5 separate regions of the Homo sapiens genome follow, and regions 2, 3, 4 and 5 are each linked to region 1. The links are contacts of gene promoters, found by promoter capture Hi-C in blood cells and fetal thymus (Javierre and others, 2016). All regions are on one chromosome and are shown on one strand. Each heading gives the region's core, a stretch centred on a gene start or on the middle of the fragment in contact. The rest is flanking DNA. Distances are from core to core; before and after follow the strand shown.

The links. The method cuts DNA at HindIII sites, captures the fragments that hold promoters and counts their contacts. A CHiCAGO score of 5 or more calls a contact.
Region 2: a fragment that was not itself captured here is called in contact with the fragment with the promoter of ZFAND5 in region 1 in 2 of 17 cell types (total CD8 T cells and fetal thymus); the score reaches 7.1 in total CD8 T cells.
Region 3: a contact is called between a fragment that was not itself captured here and the fragment with the promoter of ZFAND5 in region 1, in 1 of 17 cell types (neutrophils). The highest score is 5.1, in neutrophils.
Region 4: a fragment that was not itself captured here is called in contact with the fragment with the promoter of ZFAND5 in region 1 in 1 of 17 cell types (monocytes); the score reaches 5.1 in monocytes.
Region 5: a contact is called between a fragment that was not itself captured here and the fragment with the promoter of ZFAND5 in region 1, in 1 of 17 cell types (fetal thymus). The highest score is 5.1, in fetal thymus.

Annotation. Positions count from the first base shown.
Region 1 is chr9:72,363,927-72,366,626 of GRCh38, forward strand. It overlaps ZFAND5 (zinc finger AN1-type containing 5), which reads right to left and starts at 1,282. Exons shown (of 7, transcript NM_001102420.3): 1 at 770-1,282. RefSeq lists enhancers at 285-988, 989-1,693 and silencers at 301-1,130, 1,141-1,520. The HindIII fragment of the contact is 8,298 bases long and covers 1-2,700 here.
Region 2 is chr9:71,776,071-71,778,770 of GRCh38, forward strand. No RefSeq gene overlaps it. Among named protein-coding and RNA genes, the nearest start is that of CEMIP2, 8.9 kb to the left of the region's middle. The HindIII fragment of the contact is 1,656 bases long and covers 606-2,261 here.
Region 3 is chr9:71,756,690-71,759,389 of GRCh38, forward strand. The region is part of intron 1 of CEMIP2 (cell migration inducing hyaluronidase 2); the gene reads right to left. Among named protein-coding and RNA genes, the nearest start is that of CEMIP2, 10 kb to the right of the region's middle. RefSeq lists an enhancer at 160-803. The HindIII fragment of the contact is 3,934 bases long and covers 1-2,700 here.
Region 4 is chr9:72,950,671-72,953,370 of GRCh38, forward strand. ALDH1A1 (aldehyde dehydrogenase 1 family member A1) reads right to left here and starts at 2,383. Exons shown (of 13, transcript NM_000689.5): 1 at 2,265-2,383. The coding sequence starts at 2,330. The HindIII fragment of the contact is 1,221 bases long and covers 695-1,915 here.
Region 5 is chr9:71,815,877-71,818,576 of GRCh38, forward strand. No RefSeq gene overlaps it. Among named protein-coding and RNA genes, the nearest start is that of CEMIP2, 49 kb to the left of the region's middle. The HindIII fragment of the contact is 938 bases long and covers 972-1,909 here.

The DNA of each region.
Region 1 (2,700 bases), core at 32-2,531:
ACACCTCCACGGAGTGCGTGGAAAGCGAGCAAAAAATTTCACATTCATCAGCCTAAATGCACCAAACAAAGGAGGTGTTCCATTTCCTCCATGAAAACGGATCTCAGGATAAAAACGCAGCGACGTCGAGAAGCCCAAAAGACGACGCCGAGAACCCCCGGCCCCATGTTCCAATGGATTTTGGAACAAGTTCGGGTCCCACTGATACCCCATCCCCCTCTAAGCAAAGGCCTCACTCAATAAAGCCCAACAGGGCCCTCTCCGAAAACCACTGAGTCATGCAGAACAGCAGCTCAGCAGGCCCGGCCAGCCCTTCGCCTGCAGGCCCCACGCGGATCCCCGACCCCCGACCCCCGACCCCGAACGGCTCCTCTTAGGGGAGAGCTAGGGGGGGCTGCAACGGGCAGGGGGCGCGGCCGCCGCCTCGGCCTCTTTGTTTCTCTGGGTCGTGGTGCCCACGCCGGGCGCCGCCGCGGAGGCGAGCGGCCTAGAGGCCGGCCCCGCAGAGGCGGCACGCCGTGCATTGTTTCCCGACCGTGCTGTGGAGCGAGCCAGGGACGCCGGGAGCCAGGTCTCGGGCCACGACGACAGGATGACGCCTCCGTCTTTGTGCTTCCTGGGCTGGCGGGCGGGCTCCCCTCCCCCGGACGCCGCCATCCGCGGCCTGCTCCGGCTTCGCCATTGGCCCGCGGCGCCCCGGTCCCTTCACTCCCGCCCCCGGCCCGGCAACAAGGAGCCCGGCTCCCACCCGCAGCCCCGTATCACTCACCCTGCAGGGTCCCAAATGCGAAAGCCGGGTTCGCGCGCGAAGCCGGCACGATGAGGCCGGGCCGAGGCCTCCGGGAAGGCTGAGCCGGGCGCCCTGGTGCCGCCGCCGCGGGCCGGGAGCGGGTCGGAGCAGCAGGCGGAGGTGGCGCCGCCGCCGCCGCGGGGTCTTCCTTTGTTCCTGCAGCAGCGTCGAGCGTGGCCGGGACACGCCGGAGCTCGGGAAGTGGGAGGAGGGAAGCGAGGGGGGGCCGAGGAGGAGGTGGAGGGAGGACCGGCGGCCGCAGCGGCTAACGCTGCTCGAGGCGCTCGCCTGTCGTCGCCTCACGCCTCCACAGGCCGCAGGTTGGGCGGACGAGGAGGGCGAGCGGACCGCGCGCCGCGAGGCCTGGGGCCGTAAGGGCCCGCTGATGGCGCTCTTCGCCGCTCCTGCCACCGCCGGGGAAGCTGCGCGGCTCCCGGGAGCGAGCGAGCCCGCGTAGGAGATGCACACAGCTCCGCGTCCCGGCCGACTAACGCACTCGCCGCCCGGCGCCCGGGCTGTGAGGGAAAAGAGGGGGAGGGGGCGGGACCCGTGCGTCAGCGAAAACCCCGGCGGCGGCGGCGGCGGCGGGGAGCGCGGTGACGTCGCGGGCCCAAGGCCACGCCCCCGGTGCCCTGTCAGTAGGTCCAGGAGGCGGGGCCGAGACGGGTTGCTGTGCCTTCTCGCGGAGCCCAGCCACTGGCCTGGCAGTCGGCCCCTAGGGTGGAGCTGGGAAGAGCGAGTCCTGTGGAGGATGCGTTTCTATTTTTAACCCAATTGTCCGCCCTCAGCCTCCCTCCTTCGGATTTTCTCATTCAAACCCGTTTTTCGCCATCCTAGTTCTCACGCTTTGTCTCCAGCCCTGGGCAGACATTCCCTCCCCCAAGAATCGTAAGGATTCACCCCCAGAAAAGGAAAAGAATTGCCTTATGGCTTCGAGGTCTTTTCTGTTTATGAAACCTCCTCACTCCCCACACCCATTTTGAGCTCCGAAGTCCAGCCCGAGCGTGGCCCTGACGCAGCTGGCGGCGTGCGTTCGCTCGCCCAAGGTCACGGGTGGTTGTGCGGAGTGAGGAAACGCGCGGCCGCCCAGGGCTGCCAATGCCCCGGCGGCGCTGTTCTGAACAAACTGTTTTGGCCAGCCTGTGAAATCCCTGGAAATTGACGATTCCAGCAAAGCGTCGTGAACTGGGAAAGCACCAAATGTTCTACTCAAAAGCCGCGAAGGGACAAAACAAGCTAGACCCGAGGCCCAGATGAAGCGGGAGGAGGAGGCTTGCGAGAGGAAGTTCAAGGGGGGAGGTACTAGGCGGGCAGTTCAGGCACGAGGCACAGGTCCCCCATGGGTGAAAGGATGACTTTACCCGGAACACTGGGAACCTTTTCAGAGCACAAACAAAAAACATTTTCAACTGACCGCTCCAAGTGAATTTCAGTTCAACTCAAAATAACAAAATTACTAAGTCGGAAAGGACTTCTGAAATTTTCTAGTAAACAACGGTCTAACGAATACATAGAAATGATGTTTAGGGTTTATATTAGCCACATATAGAATGGAGAAGAGGTCCCTTCAGTGTTTCTCAAAGTTGGTAATCAGAAAAAAAATCACCTGGGGTGATTAAAGATTCCTACGCATCTCCCCTGGATATGGTTTTGGTTGTTCCGGGGTGGGAGCGGGGGTGGGGGGGGGCCCATATTGCGCTTCAGGTGGTCCTTATTTATAATCTGTATTTGGGGGAATGCTATACTGATAGCTTGAGCCACCACTGCCAAATCAAACAGTTCTCCGCCACAGTTAGCAAAGTACCTGGAGCATAACAACCTTTTGTTTTGTTTTTTAACAAATTCGGGTTTATTACTGTGATCAATTAATGTATTAGAGATTTAAGTAGTTTGGGTCACTGGTCCCACGA
Region 2 (2,700 bases), core at 184-2,683, 590 kb before region 1:
TCAAATTTGGTGGTGTGTGCCTGTAGTCCCACATACTCAGGAGGGTGATGTGGGAGAACTGCTTGAGCCCAGAGGTCAAGGCTTCAGTGTGCCGTGATGGTGCCACTGCCCTCCAGCCTGGGTGACAGAGCAAGACTGTCTAAAAAAAAGAAAAAAAAAAGATTTGCTCATAGCATGTCTACAATATATGCAGTATTACCACTAATATCTTATAAATTTGCTGGATGAGGATTACATGATCTGTGTAAACTGAAGAAATACACACAAGAAATGTAGTGTATTTTCATTATATTCACATATGGATATGTACCAGAAGAGTTGATATAGTGAATTTGCATAAGAATTGAGAAACCTGGTTATGAATATAGACTTTAATTTGAAATAATACCAACATCCTGAAATCATGCATTATCTCCAAGGTTTTATCTCTTCCTTCCTGTTCCTTCCAGGCAACCAGCAAAGAAGTATTAACCTGTTCTGCCTAGAAAGACAGGATCCTGTGTAATCTTCAAAGGCACATAATCAGAAAGGAAAAGCAAGATTAGGAGTACCTTACATGCATAAATACATAGCTGTCAAAATTCCCCCAAAGTATATTATATCAAAGCTTTCTAAATTTTCCATAGTTATTATTACAAACTTACTAAAGTACAAGAAAAAATAAATAAATCCCTGCGAAGCCTCTGGGCCACCTGGATGACAAAGGAGCTCTTTAGGAAACTTGAGCTCACCATGGATTTGAAAATACACAATTAACAACATGTCAAAAGTTATCATCAATCCAGCTCAATTACACAAATCTTTTTTTGGACAATTTCTACACTTCTCTCTAAAGAAATGAACATGAGCTGGGCACAGTGGCTCACACCTGTAATCCCAGCACTTTGGGAGGCCAACACAGAAGGATCACTTGAGGCCAGGAGTTGAAGACCAGCCTGGGCAATAAAGCGAGAATCTGACTCTAAAAAATTAGCTAGGTTTGGTGGTGCACACCTGTAGTATAGCTACTTGAGAGGCTGAGCCCAGGAATTCAAAGTTGCAGTGAGCTGTGATAGCACCATGGCACTCCAGCCTGAGCAACAAAGCAAGACCCCATGTCTAAAATTTTTAAAAAGTAAGGGATGAACATGAGACTATTTTGAAAGATAAACAGGATTACTGGATTATGACATATATGATAGATATGTTGATTAATTTGATTGTGGTAATCATTTCAAAATGTATCATATATCAAATCATCACATTGTATCCTTGAATACACAACTTTTGTCAATTATACTTTTGTCAATTATTTTCCAGCTCAATAAAGCTGGAAAAAAATTACTTGAAATAATGTAAACAAACTAACAGAAATCATCAACTACTTTTTGTTTTCAAGAATACAATGGAAAAATGCCATTCATGACAAAAGTAGAAAAATCTGATTTTATAGTCCATTTGGATATAAGAATTTTCTACATGATTAAATTGAGTCATTGTTTTCAGAAAACTATTGTGAAAATACACACGGTGCTTTAAAAAGAAGGGAAGGAATGTCAACCCTTTCCATGATTGTCTTAACACAGGGTCTTTTGTAGATGAGCTGAACACAGCTTAGAAAACTCAGAGCTCAATTATTTATTCTACAGATATTTATTGTTGTCTTATGTAGCAAACACTGATAGATTCTGGAAGCTGAATAAGACAGCAAAGCCCCTACAATTTAGTAGGGGTTTGGACCCCTAATAAAAGGAAACTGACAAATAAACCAATAACGTAATAACACGGCCGGGTGCGGTGGCTCATGCCTATAATCCAAGCACTTTGGAAGGCCGAGGTGGGCAGATCACCTGAGGTCAGGAGTTCGAGACGAGCCTGGCCAACATGGTGAAACCCCGACTCTACTAAAAATAAAAAATTAGCCGGGTGTGGTGGCACGCGCCTGCAGTCCCAGCTACTCGGAAGGTTGAGGCAGGAGAATCGTTTGAACTCAGGAGGCAGAGGTTGCAGTGAGCCAAGGGGAAAAAAATAATAATAACACATGATTATACAGACAGTAATAAGGGAAATAAACAAAATTAGGAGTAATAAGTGGGATAAAAGTTACATCGATGGCCTTCCATAAGCCACATTTCCCAATATTTACATTCTACTAAGGTCCTCTCCTACATTGACTCTGAACTTGGCCATGTGACTTGCTTTGGCCACTGTAACAACAGAAGCGTGATGTAAGCACAGGCTTCAAAAGCACTTGCACACGAGTTGGAGCAGGATTGTGAAAAAGCTTATTTAAGGTGACGTGGTCAGGAAAGACGTGTCCAAGAAAGTGATAGTTAAGCTAACATCTAAAGAATGTTGACCTTGAGGACAGGAATTTAAAAAGTGAGATAAGTTATGATGATGAGAAAAGAGAGACTGGGCAAGGTGCAGGCTCATCCCTCTAATCCTAGCATTCTGGTAGGCAGAGGCGGGCAGATAGCTTGAGCCCAGGAGTTTGAAACCAGCCGGGGCAACATGGTGAGATTTCTACAAAAAATACAAAAAATTGGCCAGGCGTGGGGTTACATGCCTGTAATCCCAGCTACTCAAGAGGCTGAGGTAGGAGGATCACCTGATCCTCAAGAAGTTGAGGCTGCAATGAGGCCATGATCGTACCACCACACTCTAGCCTGGGTGACAGAGCAAGACCCTGTCTAAAGAAAAAAGAAAAGGAAGGATCAG
Region 3 (2,700 bases), core at 133-2,632, 610 kb before region 1:
GTCTATGTGTTAATTCTTATAAAATGCAATTCTAGTATGAAAACTAATAGGTGACTAAAAGGTATTATTAACAACTGCAGGAAGGAATTCTAAAGATAAAGAGCAGCAAACTACCTAGATAAATTCAACCTTTCACAATATTTTGTAATAGTTTTAACTACACATTATGAAATGCAGTAGGCACACAGAAAAAAAGAAACATTCCACTCCACTTTATTTTGTTATGTTGACAGCCATTCAATGCTGTGATCAAAGAGAAAGGCTTCTCAACACAGAGAAAGCGGCAGCAGTTCAAAACTAGTAGGAGCTCTTTAAAAGGGATTTTAGTGTTCTTTCAGCTGCTGAGATGTTAATATGCAAGACAAAGGTACTTATCACTTACATGGTGGTTGAGGACACTTGCCCCCTAGGCTATATCATCAGTCCCCCAAATAATCTAGCCCTTCCAACCCAATGCAGAGAAGGTGCCACAGCCACACAGTCCAAGAAATGCATATTGGCCCCATCATCCCCTCATATTGAACAACTAATGAAAATACAATACTTTTGATTCATTTAAGCTCTCTCAAATCACGCCTAGGCTTTTTAAGAAAACTAATTTTTGAATGGAAGATTCAGGCTTGTGGGAAGAGCCAAGAAGTTGGCACGATCTAATCAGGTCAGTTCTTTTTTGATCAAGGACATAATTTTTTAAACAATACTCAACCTAAGGGTCAAGTTACAATTTTTGCTTTCGGAGAGTTTCAGTACAACTGGCCAAAATTTGGCTAAGAACATTTTTTCTTTTATTACGATCTTAGAAGATCTAACACATTCACTAGTATGCCCAAAAAGTAAAAACATGCAGCAAAAAGTAAAAAGAGGAGTGAGCATGAATTATCATGAAAACAGATGATACTATAATTATTTGTACTTTTGACCTAATAAAATATTTAACCAGATTCTAACTGCCTTGAATTTTCAATTAATAATTCCACATTCCCAACCTCCTACTTTCAGGAGAAGAACACAACAAAGAATAACCATCAGGGATCACCATTTAGATCTTCTGGTTTGGTTTGGTTTGGTTTGGTTTGAGGGGAAGCAGGGTTAGGGCGTTTCATTTAGTTTTGTTTTAGATTCAGATTATGTCCATTGACAAACAGTGAACTCAACAAATACCCTGTACATAAAAAAGTGTTCAATTAGAAAATAACCTTAGCAAAGCAGACTTTTTAGGTCCTCTAATTCCGCAAGTTTCAAATAAATAATTAAGTGTGACCAATACTCTCAAGAAGATTATGTACTTAAATAACTATTATAAAGGTTTTCAAAGAGTTTGGGTAGGGAGGAATCTTTCTATACGTAGTTTAGCAGAATATAATGTATCACCTATTCTATTCCCAGAGCACACAGGATAATATACATTTTTTAAAAAAACAACCACTGCAAAGAATTCAACATAAATGCTAGGTCTATACATACAGCTATTTATGAGAAAACGGACATATGGTTGAAACAATTAAGTCAACTTTCATTCAGAGATCTGCTCGATTGTGTATTAGCATACTCTCAAAGAATTGAAAACCCTTAGACCTCTAAACAGGTGTGGGGCCAAGGACCTTGGCCACCTGAAGGTTCACTGAAAAATCAACTCACAAAAGCCAGATCAACAGGGGAAAAGACACAAAACTTTATCTAATGTGTTATACACAGGAGACTTCAGAATGAAAACCCAACCCCCTGGTGGGGTACAGAAGTGTGTAAATACCTTCTAGAAATTGGAGAAAGAATGCAGGCTCAGAGCATGGCCGAAAACAGGTTACAGTAGTAAATCAGGTTTTAGCTGTAAGACAGGTTATGTAAGGAGGCTTGGCAAGCAAAGGTGGTCTTGTTATGTAGATGAACCGAACCTCACAGGTAGCACCCCTGAGAGGAGAGACGGCAAATGTCTCTTTCAGATCTGTAAGGAGTCAGACTTAATTAATCCTTCCTAGAACCGGACAAGAGAAAGCCTGGCTGCATTAATGCATATTTTCTATAGATGCAAATTTCCCCCATAAAAGACTGCTTTGCAGGGTGACTTCTGTTTGCTGCTGTTTGCTGACATCTCAAAATATGTCAAAGAAATATATTTGGGGGTAAAATATTTTGATTTCCTAAAATAGAAGATTTTCCACAGGACATGCCTTCACACTGTCCCACAAGGCGCATTCTCCATTATTTCTTTGCCCTTGTCACAGCGCTTTTGTCTTTTTCCTTCAACTCTCAAAAATCAGTATGAGTCACAATCACCTGCAACTGTTTGGCATGTTTCCAAGAAATAAGACACTCTGCACAGTTAGTTTACTTACACAGATCTTTGTTTACTTTTATTAAGCAGATTATAGCCAGGTCAATGTTCAGAGGTAGAAGGGAAATGCACCAACTCTTAATTATAAACCTCTGCCTATGAAGGGAAAGGACAAGGGACTGAGAACCCCTAATTGTTTATATGTCCCTACCTGCTTTATCTATTTGATCGATTTAGACACATATAAGTGATATTCCCAAGTTAAGCTATTGTTATAATAAACATCTGTATGCATCAGACTTCTAGATTCACACCACGTATCACTCAGATTATCTCCTTCCTTAAAGAAAAAAAAAATCTTGCCTGCCCCAAAAACCTATTAAAATATAATACAGCGAAAGTATAAGAAACTGTGGGGGTCATAGGCT
Region 4 (2,700 bases), core at 55-2,554, 590 kb after region 1:
GTTCTCTCCAACTTGTCCTAACAACCAATATACTTCTAGCTATAATAATAATAAAAAAGGACATTAGAATAGTAACAGAAAAATAACACAAGACTTTAGGGGCTGGTAATAGAAGATAATTCCTCAGACACTATAAACTCCTTGCTTACTTGGTTTGTAACCAGGGAACTTTTTATAGTTAATAACCATCATTTTTTTTTTTAACTCCTCTTGCAAGAGCAAATTCAATCCAATTCTTCACTGGGACATAGTAAACAAAAAATGCGAAGGCATTTGAAAAAGTTCACCCATTTAGATTTAATTACATACATAACTGGCGTCCTCCCAAGTGTGAAAACGCTGTAACCAATAAATTAAACAATAAAATGCTATCTGAGCAGAACAGATTTATATAGAAGATGCACGAGAAATCAAAATTCACTGACTTGTTTGGAGTATTTTTACCCAGAAAAGTTCTTAAACACAGAGCAAAACGCCTGCTCTTTGAGTCTTGCCTTCTTTTGGACACTTAGGTCAGTCACTTTCCCTAGAGGGGAGTTGTTGCACAGTGACTTCGAAGTGAATAGGTTTCAATCTCAAAATCATCTCTCTGTGTTAAGGGTTCATTAGGTCTGTGCTTGTATGTTAGATTTTTAGGACCATCTCATTTGTCTAGTACCGCTTCTTACATGCTTAGTTAATGACTACTAAGTGAAGCTTAATTTAGCAGGAAGGTTATTTACATTAGAGCTTCCTTGAAATACACACACAAGGAAGACTTTGCAAACTTCTGCAAAGCCAAAGGAGTGGGGAGACAGGGGCATCCAGACTACCAAAATATCTTCCTAGGTAGTATTATTAAAAAAAAAATCCCATTAATAATAGTAATACAATAATCTGAGCATTGTCGACAATTTTGAGCTTCATGAAATGTATTTTTAAATGTACCCACTTTCAATTGAAATTTCTTGTGAATGACAAACTTGGAATAAGAAAATGAGGGAGACTGGACTCTTGCAACCTTTTGGACATACCTTTGCCAAATGTAAATTGTTTGACGGTATGGATTTACTGCATTTTTCATGCTACCATTTGTAGTAAAACTAAATGGAAAAAATCTTTCCTCTTTAACAAAACCTCGTGATAACAATACCTTAAAATACACTTCATAGCTGCTGGTCAACCATGTTAAAGGCACAATCTGATCTCTGCTGCTACTTTCCTGAGGAAAAGAGCCAATCAGCTGAGCAACTTCCTCATTTGTTGTGCTTTATGAAAATGAAAATGCAACAGACCTTGGGATTTCAAAGCCATCCATGGTTACAAGTGAGGAAATAAATATATAACAGTGGGGACTTTTACTTTATCATTAAATTATAATGCCCTTTGTTTTTCTGTTGGCTAATTCAGACAGCAAAATGGCTCTCTCTTGATTTGCAAGAGTTAATTTCTTACCATACTTTCTGCATCACACCATAAAGATAACTTCAAGTAATTTTGGTTAGATTGTGTTTTATTCATTTGTTTGTTTTGGAGTTCTAGGATCTGACAGGAAAGCAGTGTGAAACAGGCAAAGTTCAGAGTTACTCTCAGAACGACTCAAGCAGGATCCATTTCCTAGTTCCCCCCAGCTGCGGATTTTAAAGTCTGGATCTAGCTCCTGCTCTTGTTTCTCTAAATATTTATCAGTTAACAATTACACATCTGCTCCAATGGCAACAAACTTGGCTGAAGAAATAATGCTTTTCTTCCTCCCACCAAAATATGCAAAATAATGCAAGTCCATCTGAAGATTTTCGAATCCAATTATCAGACTTAAGTCCCCCTATTTTAACACTCATTTTATTAAACATATTGGAAAGTTATGTTATTTCAGTATGCTCTCTTTCTCCTTGTTTGCTTTCTATTGTTCCTACTCGTTTGGTTCTTTCCAGTAAGCTTCTCTAGTGAGTATTTTGCTCTCTTATCATACATGCCGGCTATAGTGAAGTTAATAGAAGTGCTTAGTAAAGTCCTCTGAATCCTGGTATAAGAATCCTTTCACACAGAAGAGAATTCCTTTCGCTTGGAAATATTTTAAGAAATAAATTTATGAAAGATTGTCTGATATGATTTAGATCATATTTGATCAGGACACTAAACTGAGACCTGCATTTTGCATGCCTTTTATTTTTATATTTGCAAAGGGCTCTTTACACAAGTTTACTTAAATTGACCTTTAATGCTTTACATAAATGCAGTTTTTGCAAACCCGAGTCAAAGCAGAAAATAGAAGTTTTACTCACCTTAGTATATTGAATCTTCAAATCGGTGAGTAGGACAGGTAAGTCTGGCGTGCCTGAGGATGACATTTCTGATTCGGCTCCTGGAACACAGGTGACTGGCTCAGCAATTTGGTTCTGATAGAGCACTTGGCTTTATTTGTTCCTTTTTTATCTGCACGGGCTAAAGTTTATTTGCATACTCGGATACGATTGGATGAACAAACTCAGAGCAAAAAAAGAAAACGACACTACTTATTTGTAACACCTAGGGCAGGAAGCCTTTGACTTTAAACTTAAATCCTTAAGAAACCAGTGCTCCAGCATCGAATTTGTACCTGGAGACAGTGCACTATTTGCAGATGAATTAATTTACAAAGCCGAAACCTGTGATAAGTGTATGCAGCAGCTGCTCTGGCCACTAAGGCCAGTTATTATTTTTTTGACTTCTCATGCTTTT
Region 5 (2,700 bases), core at 191-2,690, 550 kb before region 1:
GATTGCACCACTGCACTCCATCCTGGGCGACAGAGTGAGACCCTGCCTCAAAAAAAAAAAAAAAAAAAAGAATATCTAGACATGGCTGCCAAGAAAAAGAACATGAACTCAAAGAGAAAATAAAATGGGTCTTTAAGAAAATAACAGCAAATCATTTAAAACATGAGTAAAGTTAGAGCATATGACCTGGAAGATTAACACAAAACAACTTTGGGTTACTCATGTGTACTAATGTCAGCTGTATCATTTCCCTATCACTGATAGGTATAGGAAACTGTACTGTGTTGGTAAAAAGCAGGTAAGAAAGGGGATGGCTGTCAGTAACTCAGCCCCGTATTACAGTAAAACTACTCCAGAAAACCTCTGGCTCAAAATACTGCAACGTACAACAGTGGGAACACAAAGTGACCAAAAAATATTGTTACAACTTTCCATTCCAGAAACATTTAGAGACGACCCACCATGAGATGACCTTGACCAGGCGTGGCTGAACATCTTCATTATAGCTACAGCAGAAACATCATGTGGTATTCTTAAGACAAATTTCAGGGCCCAAAGAAGCTATTCAGGATCCTGTTTTCCACTTGCTTCAATATATTTAAGCTCCTTGAACTATGACATCCTCCCAAATAGGTTCGCTGACTTCCTTCACTAAGGCACCCACCAAATATTTGTTGAGCGCTTACCATGGGTCAGGAACTGTTCAAGGCACTGGACATAGGGTGTTGAACAAGAAAGAAAGACATGATCCTTGCTGTCATGAAGCATTCATTTCAGAGTCATACTTCTTATGTTCACACACAAGTGAAGTGGTATTGGTATTTCAGAGTGAATGTGTTTTATAACCAATATTGATATTTTTCTTCTCTAGAGGCTCCCTTTATTTCTTAGTCACAAAACAAATATTTTTGAAAGATAGCAATGAAAACTTGGAACTTTTAGAAAAGCCATTTATTGCTAGAAATGGGCTAAGCTTACGTTTTCCTAAAATATCTGTAGAATGAAAACATAATCCAAAAAGGCACACATTCGCCAAGAGTGCAGCACGCTGGTCTTTGACTTACATAACTCTAAGGAAATAACTAGTTAGTTTCTGTTAATGTTTGATGAACTTTGACAAATTAGCACGAAGAATTAGATCAAATGAACTGTATGCACTGTCTGAACAAGAGGGATAAGCAAAAAAAAAAAATCCTCTCTAACAAGGAATGTTGGACTCAAGCATACTCTCCTAGAGGAGAAAACTGAGACTTCCTAGATGTAAAGCAACTGGCTCTAAAACACAGAATTAGAATAAAGGGAAGGAGGTCACTGGAGCGGCAAGGGTGGGGGTGAGCTTTACAACAAAGAATGATGATCACTAGATTTCAGCTCTGCGTCTATACGGGCTCACTTCCTTCACATGGGGAAACAAATAAAAATAAAAAAAATAGGGAGAGTAGCTAGGAGCCAAGGCTCAGCTGGGAACAACAGGAAGCAGCCGCGAGCTGAGTGCCATTGTGGCCACTTCAAATGGCAGAAGGTGAGAAACCAGCACAGCTGGCAACTAAAAATGAACTTGCAAACACGAGCGGGCAGAAATCAGGATTTCAGCCTTTGGGGATGCAACAGTGAATAAGACATGGGGCCTCTGTTCTGGAGAACTCTGAGATTAGAAGAAGAAATAGATGAATTACACAATGTGATAAAAGGGGAGAAGAGTCAAAATGAGGAACACAGTGAACCCGGGTAGGGAGGCAGATGATTAATTCAGTCCAATAACACAGGTATCATAGAGAAGGGATTATGCTGTGGGTATTGAAGTATAAACAGGACTTTTCCAGGTAGACAACTTGGAAAGACCACAGCATTTCAATTTGGAAAAGAGCAAGCTCACAGGTAATGAAGTAAAATCATGTATTATGGCTGAAGCTTAAACATCAAGGGGGAAAGAGAGTAGATAAATCTAGAGAAGTAGGTAAGGGCTTTGGATATTATTCTGAGGAAAGCCAGTGAAGCATTTTGTTTGTTTGTTTAACTTTGTTTTGAAAATAAATATAAGCGTACAGAAAAGTTGCCACAATAAAAAAGATTATACAACATACCTGTGTACCATTTATCTACTGTTAACATTTTGCCCCATTTTTCATTCCCCCTCTCTTTCTTTCCATATATATATATGTAATTTTTGAACCCTTTGAGAGTAAATCGCATACAGCCATTGAAGTGATTTCATTAGCGGGAGAACATGATCAGATTTGTGTTTTAGAACAGTCACTCTTATGGGAGTAGGGAGATCTTCAGGAATATATATCAGAGGCCTGGAACTAAACTAATGAGAAATCAAATGAAGGGTATGTCTGTGGGAATGGAGAGGAGAGAGTACATTCAAGAGAGAAATAAGTTTTGCCCATTGCATGTGGTCTCTGAGGGATGGGGTAAAAAGAGTGGAATCTGAGTTTTGGGACTGGGTAACTGAGTGGTGGAGACCCTGTCAAGACAGAGAATAATAAATACAACGTAAGAAAAATATGAATAGTTTATATCTATTGAATGCTAATTATATGCTAGGCACAGTTCCTAACACTTTAGGTCTATTAATCCATTTAATCCTCAAAACAATCCTAACAGGTTTGTTCTTTTATTAACTTCATTTTACAGATGATTTAAACAAAACATGTTTACAGAAAAAAAATTTTTTTAATTAAAAAACGTGTTTTG